3 separate regions of the Homo sapiens genome follow, and regions 2 and 3 are each linked to region 1. The links are contacts of gene promoters, found by promoter capture Hi-C in blood cells and fetal thymus (Javierre and others, 2016). All regions are on one chromosome and are shown on one strand. Each heading gives the region's core, a stretch centred on a gene start or on the middle of the fragment in contact. The rest is flanking DNA. Distances are from core to core; before and after follow the strand shown.

Evidence for each region. The method cuts DNA at HindIII sites, captures the fragments that hold promoters and counts their contacts. A CHiCAGO score of 5 or more calls a contact.
Region 2: the fragment with the promoter of NTAN1 here is called in contact with the fragment with the promoter of ERCC4 in region 1 in 1 of 17 cell types (fetal thymus); the score reaches 6.5 in fetal thymus.
Region 3: a fragment that was not itself captured here is called in contact with the fragment with the promoter of ERCC4 in region 1 in 1 of 17 cell types (naive CD8 T cells); the score reaches 8.9 in naive CD8 T cells.

Annotation. Positions count from the first base shown.
Region 1 is chr16:13,918,659-13,922,847 of GRCh38, reverse strand. ERCC4 (ERCC excision repair 4, endonuclease catalytic subunit) reads right to left here and starts at 2,694. Exons shown (of 11, transcript NM_005236.3): 1 at 2,476-2,694; 2 at 637-817. The coding sequence starts at 2,682. All of the region lies in intron 1 of LOC105371093 (a long non-coding RNA gene), which reads left to right. LOC124903647 (a long non-coding RNA gene) reads left to right here and starts at 2,770. Exons shown (of 2, transcript XR_007065001.1): 1 at 2,770-3,169; 2 at 3,265-3,383. It also overlaps the pseudogene RPS26P52. RefSeq lists enhancers at 2,241-2,450, 2,491-2,850, 3,061-3,110. The HindIII fragment of the contact is 6,939 bases long and covers 1-4,189 here.
Region 2 is chr16:15,053,847-15,057,841 of GRCh38, reverse strand. It overlaps NTAN1 (N-terminal asparagine amidase), which reads left to right and starts at 1,768. Exons shown (of 10, transcript NM_173474.4): 1 at 1,768-1,951. The coding sequence starts at 1,871. It also overlaps a transcript of PDXDC1 not described here. RefSeq lists a silencer at 2,213-2,397. The HindIII fragment of the contact is 4,402 bases long and covers 1,418-3,995 here.
Region 3 is chr16:12,077,475-12,081,745 of GRCh38, reverse strand. It overlaps SNX29 (sorting nexin 29), which reads right to left. Exons shown (of 21, transcript NM_032167.5): 11 at 2,831-2,913. It also overlaps the pseudogene RPS23P6. Among named protein-coding and RNA genes, the nearest start is that of SNX29, 100 kb to the right of the region's middle. The HindIII fragment of the contact is 4,146 bases long and covers 704-4,271 here.

The DNA of each region.
Region 1 (4,189 bases), core at 1,445-3,944:
TTTACTGAGCATCTACAATGTGTCAGGTATCATGCTGAAAGTTGGAAGCATAATGTTGAACAAAAGGATCCAGTAGTGCCCACTAGAAGGTTCTAGTAGAGCGTTCAGCAGAGGAGACAGACAAAAATAAAAATGTAGAAAATACCCTCTCCGGTCCGTGCCTCCAAGATGACAAAGAAAAGAAAGGACAACGGTCATGCCAAAAAGGGCTGCGGCCATGTGCAGCCTATTTGCTGCACGAACTGTGCCTGATGTGTGCCCAAGGATAAAGCCATTAAGAAATTCGTCATTCAAAACACAGTGGAGGCCACAGCAGTCAGGGACATTTCTGAAGCGAGCATCTTCGACGCCTATGTGCTTCCCAAGATGTATGTGAAGCTAAATTACTGTGTGAGTTGTGCAATTCACAACAAAGTAGTCAGGAATCGATCTTGTGAAGCCTGCAAGGACCGAACACCCCCACCCAGATTTAGACCTGTGGGTGCTGCCCCACGACCCCTACCAAAGGTGATGTAGGGAGCTGAGTCCTTCAAGACTGAAGACAGACTATTCTCTGGAGAAAAATAAAATGGAAATTGTACTTAAAAAAAAAAAAGTACAAATTTACATACTAATAATAAGATTTCAAATTCTTACCAGTAATTAAATCTGAAGGTATTCTATCAGTCAAGAAGTCAACCACAAGTATCCTACTTGTCGCAAATATAACACCACCTTGTGTGTAAACTTCATAGCGACTGTTGCTTGTGATTTCATTTGTTACACGGCGAGGGAGGTGTTCAACTCCTTCTATCTTCAGCTGATTGATAAAATACTCCTAAATCAAATCAAACTTGATTAGTAGGCTATTTAATACAGGGCAGTTTTTAATAGGTCACAGATATTTAAAATAATGTGCTGTCTTTCTCTGAGATAATGAACTTAATAATGAATATACACACTAAGTTACTTCTTTATAGTAACTTCAGCCAACCAGTCTACATTTAATGAGGTTTTCTTGTTTTGGGGTTTACACTAAGGAATAATTGCACTTCAGTCATTATCAGCACTCAACTACAATAACATATGCACACACATACAAAACCTCAAACTTTTAAAAGCCTGGATTAAAAGATTTCTGCTACCTAGAAAATACTTCCCACCAAAGCCAGGTTTGTAGCCAAGCACATTCTATGAGATGATAACAAGGGAATCCTTTCCCCAGACAATGTTTTAGACTATCAGTTCTGTGCTAATCTATCCTAGAGGGACTTCATGTCACTGGGTCCCTTGGCTTGGTTTATTTATATCCCCAGTTTAAAACCATCTTTACTAGGCCCTGTGTGTTGCCTTAGGCCCTATGCCAAGCACTGGGGATACCTAGATGAATCAAACAGGATCCCTGCCCTCAAAGAGACTGTGGTCACTCTTCTCAGCTGACATTTTTCTCCCGGCCACCTGATATATCTAGGGGATCATCAGACTTGTCCGACCAAGCTGTGTCCCCTCTCAACACCCCTCAGACCCATGTGTAGCCCCATTCCATCTTTCTCAGTGTTCTCCATTGTCCTTAACTGTAGTTAACCTTTGCCAACATCCTCAGCGTCAAGCTCCAATCCCTTTCTGACCCTATGGCCCTCTTAACACAGCCTTGGTGAATGTCCTATTTCCTGGTCCCTCCTTTTCCCTATTGGGGTTTTTCCAGCGCCTCAGCATCTCCTTTCATGTCTCCCCATCACCCTCAGAGATCTTCCATCCTCATCACTGTTCCCTTTCAGGGACCTTCCTTCTGCCCCCAGAAACTCCCTTAATGGCCAACTTCAGGACTCTCCCGTTATTCCTATCCAGATCCTCCTTCCGACATCTCCCCCTCCCCTGCAGCGACCTCCGATCCTCTCCTACCACTCAGAGCCCCTTCACCTTTCAGTGCCCTTGCACCCATGTCAGGGACCTGCATCCTTCTGGGGACCCCTCCCATCCCTCTTAGTGTTGTCAGGGAATTGCATCCTTCTCGGGACCCCTTCCATCATTCTCACTGTGCCTGCACAGTGTCAGGGACCCGCATCCCCTGGGGACCCCTCCCATTTCTCTTAGTGTTCTTGAACTCTGGTCAAAGACTTGCATCCTTCTTGGGACCCCTCCCTTCCCTCTCAGAGTCCCCGCACAGTGTCAGGGACTGGCATTCCTCTTAGTGTTCTTCAACTCCTGCCAGGGACCTGCAGCCTTCTCGGGGCCCCTCCAATTCTTATCAGTGTCCCCGCACGGTGTGAGCGACCGGTATCCTCCTAGCGACCCCTTACATACGTCTGTGTTCCCGCAGTGTGAGGGACCTGCATCCCCCTGGGGACCCCTGCCATCCTTCTCTGTGTCATCGCGTAGTGTCAGGGGCCTGAATCCCCCTCAGAGCCCCTCCATCCCTGTCAGAGGCCTCGCATCCGCTCAGGAGGCCCTCAACACTCTCGGAGTCCCCTCACTCCCGCGCCAGCGCGGCCGCACCTCCTCGGCCGGCTGCGTGTTGAGCACCAGCACCAGGCAGGCTGGGTGGCAGTGCAGCTGGAGAAAGTGGTAGAGGAGCCGGTCCGCGCCGAGCCCGCGGGCGCACACTACTAGCCCGTCAGTGTCGAGCAGTTCCAGCACCAGCTGTCGCTCGTACTCCAGCAGCGGCGCCATGGCAATCCGTCGAGCCGGCTGCCCTGACTCCATGGAAGCTCTTCCGGGTCGCAGCCGAACGCAGCCGAAGGAAGCCGACTCCTAGTGGAGAGTAGGCCGAACTCAACCGAAGAGAGCCGAGTCCGAGAGGACGGCAGCCAGCCGAACGTAGCCGAGGAGAGCTGAGACTGAGATGATCGTGGGCCGAACGCAGCCGAAGAGGAGCCGAGGCCACGACAGGCGCGCTCTCAGAAAGCCGAAGAGAGCCGAGCCTGAGAAGGCAAGCGTTGGCCGAACTCAGCCGAAGAAGAGCCGAGTGGAGCCGAAGATTCATGGAGTCACCTGTAGGGGCTGGCGCCCCCTGTCGGTGTAGCTTGCAGATATCAGGCTCCATTCACGTCTCTTTTGAGTTTCCACATCCCCTGGCACCCTAGCCTCAAGCTGCCAAAAAGCAAGGGAAGGGGAAGTAAGCCTAAGGAGCTTAATCCCCCGACATCGACAGTTGAAAAAGTTACTGGTCAATATTCCAAATGCGCCAAGAGTTAGTAGCACCTGTTTCCTAGGGTGGTTTTTGGCCCTTCCTTTTGCGATTACTCCCCATCCTTCTTTTAATTTTTTTTTTCTTTCCCGAGACAGGATGTTGATATGTTGCCCAGGCTGGAGTGCAGTGGCTGTGGAATAAGCAGAATCATTTACTGACTTCAGACCTCTGTTTGCCTCCCAAAGACTTCAATACAATAAACTATTTTTAAAAATCCCTCCTTCCACTAGAGGGACACCTCCCGCAGTGTTTGTTCTATACCTAGAAATGCCTGATAGTTGAACTAGTAGAGGAATTGTTTTGTATAGAAACCCCCCACCTTTGTTATTAGAAAATAGAAAATACAAGTAAACAAAAATGAAAATCACTTGTTTCCATTACTTGGAAATAACCACTGTTAACATCACGAAATCTATTTTATTTAGTCCTTTTTTTTCTATCTATATACACATTCTCTCATCACACGGAGTTCTTTTACCGACACGAGATAATTAATATCCCTGATTTAAATCCCCAGCTTTGTCATTAACATTTGGCAAACCTCTGAACATGATGTTTCATATTCTTTTACAAAGTCCTTTTATATGGCTGATGAGATTTCCATTATGTGGGTGTACTTACCTAATTGCTTATTAGAGGACATTTAGTCTGTTTCTGCTTTTTCCCTTCCAGTAATATAAATAATATTTCACTAAACATCTTTGTATGTAAATTCAGCCGTGGCCTTCAGATACACGTCTAGAAATGAATAATCACTGGGATAAAGAGAAAAAAATTTGTAAGGCTTTTCATTCCATTCACATTGCCACATTGCCCTCTAGAAAGCCTATACCAATTCACATTCACACTAGCCGTTTCCAAGAGGATCTGTTCCTCTACCTCTTTACTGCTTAATCTGGTATTTTGCTTACATTTTGTCAAGATGAAAATAGCATATAATTCCTGAATGCTGTTTAAGTGGAAAGGGTTGCCGGCAGACACTTTACATACAGCGTTTCCTCTGAGGCAGATATTAATCTC
Region 2 (3,995 bases), core at 519-3,018, 1.1 Mb before region 1:
GCAAACTGCACCAGCCCCAGGCAGAACCCACAGAACCTTGTTCTTCACCTTTGCACTTCCAAATGCCTCACTTTGATTGACTACTCTTTGCTCTGCAATTCCAATAATAGCTATCTTTAGTGTTTAGTATGTACCAGGTGAAACAAACATGCTATTCTACAAAACCAGTTCAGGGAAGTTAAGTAACTTGCTCCAGGCCAGCCTGCTGGTCATTGATCACCCTGGTTTCAAACCCTGTTTTTAGCTCCGAGCTTCCTAGTTGGGACTTACTTAATGTCACCTGCATTAGAATGAGTTGTTTACAGTACAGTCTAGGAGCATCTTATAGTGATGGAGAGCACTGCCTTTGGAATCATGCAAAGCTAGGTTCAGTCTTCGTTCTACTACTTATTTCTACCACTTTGAGCAAGTTACTGTATCTGTTATAACGGAGGTGTTGATAGTAGCTCCTACATTTGTGAGGACAAATGACAAATGAGGTGTTGATAGTAGCTCCTACATTTGTAAGGACAAATGAGAAATGTAGGTGTAATAATACAGAGAAATAATTTCCTGGTAGCTAGAAATAGAGTTATTTTGGGTGAGAAGTTGGGTAACCTGGCGATGGGAACACCATCTTCTACAGTCATTTCTTTAGTAAATTTCCTGGTATTTTTGTTGAACGGGGTGTGTAAGCTGAGGGGGAGATTTATGAAAGAAGACGATGAATACAGATGATAAAATTCTAATAAAGTTTCTGCTGTATCATGTGGCTCCTCTGTATCTTTTGTAAAATTACTTTTTGTTAATGTGCTGCAGAGTTGGATGAATTTGAGCAATATTTCCAAGTTTTAGAAGAGAGCTCCACGGTGAGACGCCTCTCACCTTGGGGACCTGTCCTCAGATTAGGGGCTCTGCAGTCAGTATCCGCAAATCCTTCCCCCACGGTTCCCAGCCCACCTGTGAGTGGCCTATTGCATTCCAATCACGACGTGTTAATCGATGATCTCTTTAGTACGTGGGGCTAGCACAGTTCAGGATCTATTTTCTCAGTTTAAGACCGTTTACATTTATTTTTATTATTTTCAGAAACAGAGTGTCCCTCTGCAGTGCCCAAACATAGCTCATTGCAGCCTCCCACTCCTGGGGTCAAGAGATCCTCCCGCCTCAGCCTACAGAGTGGCTGGGATCACAGGTGCATGCCACCGTGCCCAGTTAATTTTTAAATTTTTGGCAGAGACGAGGGTATGGGGGAGGGTGGGTCTCACTATGTTGCCCAGGCTGGTCTCGAACTCCTGGCCTCAAGCGATCCTCCTGCCTCGGCCCCCCAAAGTGCTGGGATTACAGGCGTGAGCCACCGTGCCCGCCTGATTAGGTTTATTATTACTCATTGAATGCAATCCTACGGAGCTGCACAGCAGGGTCCCAAACTCAAGCTTGTGGAAGGTCACACACCTGGGAAGCGTGGAGCAATGACCTAAAGCGCAGCAGTCGGAGCCAGAACCCGCCCCAGGAACTCGCCCGGAGGCTCTCTTGGCTGGTGCAGCTGCTCCCTGGCAGCTCTCCTTTCCCCGCTCCTTCACTCCCACGCTTTTGGGACTACACTTCCCAGCGCCCCTTGCGGAGGAGGCGGGCCGCGCGCTGCTTCCAGGGCCACTTCCTGGCTTTGGACTACATTTCCCGTGAGGCCTTGCGGCCATGTCCTGGATTTCTCCAGTCTCTTCGGCCGGCACCGCCTCCGCCTGGACTCCACTTCCCGGCAGCGCCCGCGGTGGGGCGGGGCAGGACGAGGCGGGACGCGCGGCCCGAGGGGCGGGGGCGGCGGGCGGCCCGGGGCTGCAAAGCGGGGGGCCGCCGCCTCCCTGGGCCTGCCTGGGCGGCCGCCTCCGCGATGCCGCTGCTCGTCGAGGGGCGGCGAGTGCGGCTGCCGCAGTCAGCCGGGGACCTCGTCCGAGCCCACCCGCCTTTGGAGGTGAGTGGGGCGCGGCGCGGGGCTTCGGGGCGGGCCCGAGGGGAAGCTGCAGGGCGGGCTAGCGCCCCCCTCACGCGACACAGACTTGAAACTTGGCGCTGTTGGCACATCCGGAGCCCCGGCCGTCGGCTCGCGTCTTCCCCTTGAGGGGTCGGGGAGTTTTTGCCTTCTTTAGACTTCAGCGGGCTGCCCCGGAGGCCACTCTCTGACAAGGGAGGGGACGGGGGCCCAGAGAGGTTAGGTGACTTGCCCAAGGTCGCACAGCACTGCGGCTCGGGGACACGCCGGGACCCCCATTCCCCGACGGGGCGGCTGCAGCCCCCATAGGGCTGGGTCCGTTTAGGCAAATCCGGCCGCCCGCCTTCGGGGACCCGCAGCCTGCGGTGAACGTTGCTTCGTCCTTGCGTCCCCGTGAAGCAGGAGGTTATTCCAGGGTGGGCTTCGGAGAGCGTTTGGCCTGGGGGATCTTGGCGGGGACCCCCAGTCCTTCCTCCTCTCTCTCCCCTACCCCCGGGGCGTAGGGCGCCGAGTTATTTTTAGCCGGGAGAGAGAGCCCTGCTTTCCGCAGCTGGGCCATAGGACCACGCCCTGATGCACGGGTTTTGTTTTTGTTTTTTCTGCTTTTGTGCTCAAATAGATCTCTGAACTCTTGTCCACGCTTATGCAGGGACTGTTGGCAAGGGGGTTCTCAGGTTTTAAAAAGAGCGGGGCGTGGCGGCGGGGGCAGACGTCCTATTTGCCATAGATCCTGTTAAAGGGGAATCAATCAGTTCCTTGATTTGAGAGTCAAATATCGAGCCCCTAATATCTGTTGGGCAACGTACTGATCACTGTCCCTGCCCTCGGAGTGTTTATAGTCTAGAAGGGAGAATGGTTTCTGATGAAGAAGGCTCAGATACTATAAACTGTTAAGTACCATAAAGAAAAAGCGTCCCCTTTCACTCTGAGATGGGAAGCACAGGAACCTGACCAAGTGTGTTGGGTTGGGGAAGGCATTTAGAGGTTTCATCTGTCACAGCTGTACAGTTTGTGATTATTTTGTTTGCTTGTTTGTTCTCTATTGGTCTGTCGCCAGAATGTAAGCCTCCTGAAGGCAGATAAGAGTAGTGTCCTCACTTTTGTATCCTCAGAGTGTAGGACGGTCCCTGGCATAGAATTGGCGCTCAGTAAAGATTTGCTGCATAAATGAGGTCACAAAATGACCCCTGAACGTGTTCTGAAGGGTGACAAGGACTTACTGACGGGGAGAAGGCAGACAGCTCTGTGTGATTCTCAGCTTGCATTTCAGGACCGACCATCGTCTGTTAGCCAACATGCACCGAGCTAGGCGTGGTGGCGTGTCACTTTATCCTTGCGTTGTGTTACTGTCCTGTTAGCTAGCGAAGTCAAGAGTAGGACTCACCAAGGAAAAATAATTTCAGCCGCCTGAAGAATTTAGGGGATGCTCTACTTTTATGTCTGTTTGAAAATGTCCGTGATAGAAAGTTAGATGGGTGTCCCGGGCTGCACACTTAAGTGTGGAGGGAGATTTGGTGACATACCGGGGCTGCTTCTCTCGAAGGAAGGTTTTGGCCTATTTAAGAAGACATGTCCTAGAAAGGCTGTGTACTGGGGACCAGTTTGTGTTACAGGAACTTTGGAAGGGGGCGATCACTTTGATTTGCGGCAGTGTAAGTGAAGAAGGATGCAGGCACGAGAGAGATTTGAAAAGGAGAAGAAGGGTGAGGGCATCGCAGCTGGGCAAGCCGCCTGGGGCGCGGCGGGCAGGAGGGGAAGGGCCCAGTGGGTGGGTGTCCTGGCCAGTTTCTCCGGAGCAGCCCGGGTGAGGAGGGGAAGCATGGAAAGTAACCTTACAGGGGTGGATTGTACCCAGATGACCAAATGACCAAGGGGCTTAGATGGACCTTTCACCTACTTAGCAACAGGGAGACATTAAAGGTTGGGTTTTTTGTTTGTTTGTTTGGTTGGTTGGTTTTTTTGAGACTTAGTTTTGTTCTGTGGCCCAGGCTGGATTGCTGTGGCACAATCTCGGCTCACTGCAACC
Region 3 (4,271 bases), core at 1,527-4,026, 1.8 Mb after region 1:
TTTTCCCCGAAATTTTTATTTTAGCTTTTTTTTTCTTTTCTTTTCTTTTCTTTTTTTTTTTTTTTTTTTTTGAGACAAAGAGTCTCGCTCTGGCACCCAGGCTGGAGTGCAGTGTCGCCATCTCGGCTCACTGCAACCTCCACCTCCCGGGGTTTAAGCAATTCTCTTGCCTCAGCCTCCCGAGTAGCTGGGATTACAGACATCTGCCACCACGCCTGGCTACAGAACTTCATTGTTGTCCTCAACTGAAGTCAAGCAGTCATCACTGAGTACAGAAGCTGTGATTTCTTGGTCAGTGGGGCCATAAAGAGCATCCTGATGGCAGGATGTGGCTGTTTGGTTTCAATCCCTACTTTTCCGGCACAATTCCCTTTTGGAGAAGCACTTCCAAAAGGGCTAGGTGCGGGGACTGCACCCAAATGGGCTTTCCTGCACTGCTGATCACCCCACTTCTGGTCTTGCTGGTGGTTACAGAGCTTCCCAGCAGTATGAAGACTGAGATACTTGCCACAGGCCGGGGCCAAAAAGAAGCAGCACTCATCTCTCTTTTGAACAACAAGAGTGGGTATCAATCGGAACCCAGGGCAGGCAACCACGCCAGGCACACTTAGTAATAGTTTCCTTCCACTGTCTTCATTTTACAGCGACCTGCTGGTTTCGTTAACTCATAGTGACTCTCCATTTACAGTAGTGAGATAAAGCTTCCTTTTTCAAAAAATAAAGGAATTCAATTTGTTTAAGTGCATCATTAAAAGTAAACTACAGTCTGGGCACGGTGGCTCACACCTGTAATCCCAGCACTTTGGGAGGCTGAGACCGGCAGATCATGAGGTCAGGAGTTCAAGACCAGCCCGGCCAACATGGCGAAACCCCATCTCTACTAAAAATACAAAAATTAGCCGGGCGTGGGCCTGTAATCCCAGCTACTTGGGAGGCTGACGCAGGAGAATCGCTTGAACCCAGGAGGTGGAGGTTGCAGTAAGCTGAGATCGTGCCATTGCACTCCAGCCTGGGAGACAAGAGCAAGACTCTGTCTCAAAAAAAAAAAAAAAAGTAAACTGTAGTAGGCCGGGCACGGTGGCTCATGCCTGTCATCCCAGCGCTTTGGAAGGCTGAGGCGGGTGGATCGCTTGATCCTAGGAGTTCAAGACCAGCCTGGACAGCATGGTGAGACCTCAACTCTACAAAAAAATAAATAAATAAAAATGAATAATAAAGTAAACTATAGGGTAAGTAACAGTACTGTGGTAAACAAAAGATTGACAGGTGAAAAGCAGCCAGCTACATACTCACCCACCCTGTGTCCCATGGACTGAGTGATCTATTAACACCTGCTCAGCGGAGTTCAGGGCTGAGCAGCGCCACAGTAAACCACACATGCTCACATACAAAAAGTGCGGCCAGCCGTTCCCACGCAGCAGCCTTACGGTGTCTGCTCACTTCCTGCTTCACCCTTGAATCAAAGAATGCTGGGTGCCTCCCAAACTCTTTCTTCCTTCCTTAGCAACAAAAACTAATTTCCTTTTTATCAAGAACAATTGCCCCCTCTGCAGCCAAGGGGGACCATGACATGAATGCTGGCCCAAGACACGAGTGGTATACTGTAAGCACCTTCTAGTGAAGGTCGGGGGAGCTTCAACGTTTTTGTACCAAGAGCCCATTTTGTAATCTAGGAATAACCATGGGCTCCTATTCAGGAAAATGTATTAAAATATATAAAACATACCATATCACAAAGGAAACCAATTACATCAAAATAGAATGATCATGATTGAAGAAAATACTATATTTCACCCAGAGCTAAATGAAAAACATTGTAATTTTTTTCCCTATCCAAGCTCAGGCCCCTGAATCCTATATGTAGAAATAGACGAAGTCTCTCTGCTCTCTCCTCCTTCCTGCCGCCTGGAATGAGAATGAAATGGCTGGAGCTAAAATGGCTATTTTGGTCTACAAGGCAAGACAGGAGGAGTCCCGGTCTCTGATGGCCGTGGAGCCACATACCAGCCCCAGCCCATCTACCTCTGGATAGAGAGAAATTTCCATCACATCTCCTTAACCACCGGAACTTCAAGAAGAGTAGGTCTGAATGGCTTTGTGTACAAAAAATAAACCAACTGTTGGTTTACATAGTGTCTGCTCACTTCCTGCTTCACCCTTGAATCAGAAAATGCTAGGTGCCTCCCAAACGCCTTCTTCCTTCCTTAGCAACAAAAGCTAATTTTTTTTTTTAATTGGGAACAAGTGCCCCCTCTGCCTCCAGGGGAGGCCATGGGACAAATGCTGGCTCAAGCCACCAGTGAGATACCAGGAGCACCCGTCAGTTTACATAACAGTTGGTTTATTCTTTGTTATACAAAGCCATTCAAACCTAGTCTTCCTTGCTATATCTCTAATACTTTTTCTAGGTAGTAAAGTTGGAAACAGTTGAAGCCTGATCATTAGCAAAGTTTAATCATCTTGGAGAGACATATTCTTCTTCACTTACAAAAATGAGTCCTTCAGAGTTACAAAGGAAATCCAACTAGAATAGGTCCTCTGTAGCTAACTGCATTATGGGAGGCAAACCCCAAAACCTGGAACCACAGAAGTCTACGGCAAGGCTGCTCCATCCTGAGGCACGCCCTTTAGCGCGCACACGCCCAAGCGCCACGCATTAACCACGGTTCTGGATATCCACAAGCACGTACCACACCTCCAGTCTACAACCAGGGACGTACACACCTGACGTGAACCCACAGTCACAGGGTTAGAAGCACAAAGGCACCGCCATGAGACGTGGGCCAGAAGTCATCCCAGAGCTGGTGGAGGGGGCTGCGAAAGTACTTACTAATTGTCATGGACTCTGGCACTGAGGCAGAAGGTAACAGGCTGCTCAGAGGACTTCCGTGGCCTGGAGAGCTGGCTTCCACACTAGGAAAAAGCAGGCAGGAGGAAGTTACACTCGGCCACTGAAAGTACACACCCTCACCATTCCAAAAACTAGCAGAGGTCGGTTTACTCCGGTACCTCTACTAGAAGGGATAGAGGCAGTCATTGGAAATTAGTCAGGCCTCGTTATCTGCAGATTCCGTATTTGGAAATTCATCTACGCACTAAAATTTATTTGTAACCCCAAAGTCAATACTTGAGGTGCTTTCACAATCATTCATGAACACGTGCAGAGGCCAATAATTTCACTCCCTAATGTGCATAATCTCAGCTGAAGTCGAACAGCTGGGACCTCAGATCTCACACCGTAAACAAGCATCCTCTTTGCTGTCTATTTACTGCCATGTTTTTAGCATTTTTTTTTCCACTTTTCTTTCTTTTGCGTGATCTCGGCTCACTGTAACCTCCACCTCCTGGGTTCAAGCGATTCTTGTGCCTCAGCCTCCCAAGTAGCTGGGATTACAGGCCCGCACCACCACACCCGACTAATTCTTGTATTTTTACTAGAAATGGGGTTTCGCCAAGTTGGCCAGACTGGTCTCAAAGTCCTGACCTCAAGTGATCCACCTGCCTCAGCCTCCCAAAGTGCTGGGATTACAGGCATGACCCACCACACCCGGCCTTTTTTTCCACTTGATTTTATTGTTTAAAATGTCCCCAAGCACAGTGCTGAAGTGGTACTGCCGACAGTTCCTAAGCACAGGAAGGCTGTGATGTGCCGTATGGAGATAATTTGTGAGTTAGAGATGCTTCATTCAGGCATGGCTTACAGTGCTGCTGGCTGTGAATTCAATGTTAATGAATCAACTGCATACATTAAACAAGGTGTCTTTAAACAGGAACAGACATAAAACCAGGTTATGTGTTGATCAGTTGATAAAAATGCTGTGACCAGGCCAGGTGTGGTGGCTCATGCCTGTAATCGCAATACTTTGGGAGGCCGAGGCGGGTGGATCACATGAGGTCAGGAGTTCGAGACCAGCCTGGCGAACATGGCAAAACCCCTTCTCTACTAAAAATACAAAAATTATCTGGGTGTGGTAGCACATGCCTGTAATCCCAGCTACTTGGGAGGCTGAGGCAGGAGAATCACTTCAACCCAGGAAACAGAGGTTGCAGTGAGCCAAGATCACGCCACTGCACTCCAGCCCCGGGCAAAAGAGCAACAGTTCATCTCAAAAACAAAATGTGTGACCAGAGCCTCAAAGCAACTTAACCATGTACTTCCCCTAGGAGCACTGGTTCAGTCTTCATAGCAACTTTATAGAATACAACTACTGGGAATAATAAGAATCAACTGTATGTTTACAAATAATTTACAACATGAAAAATAAAGTTTA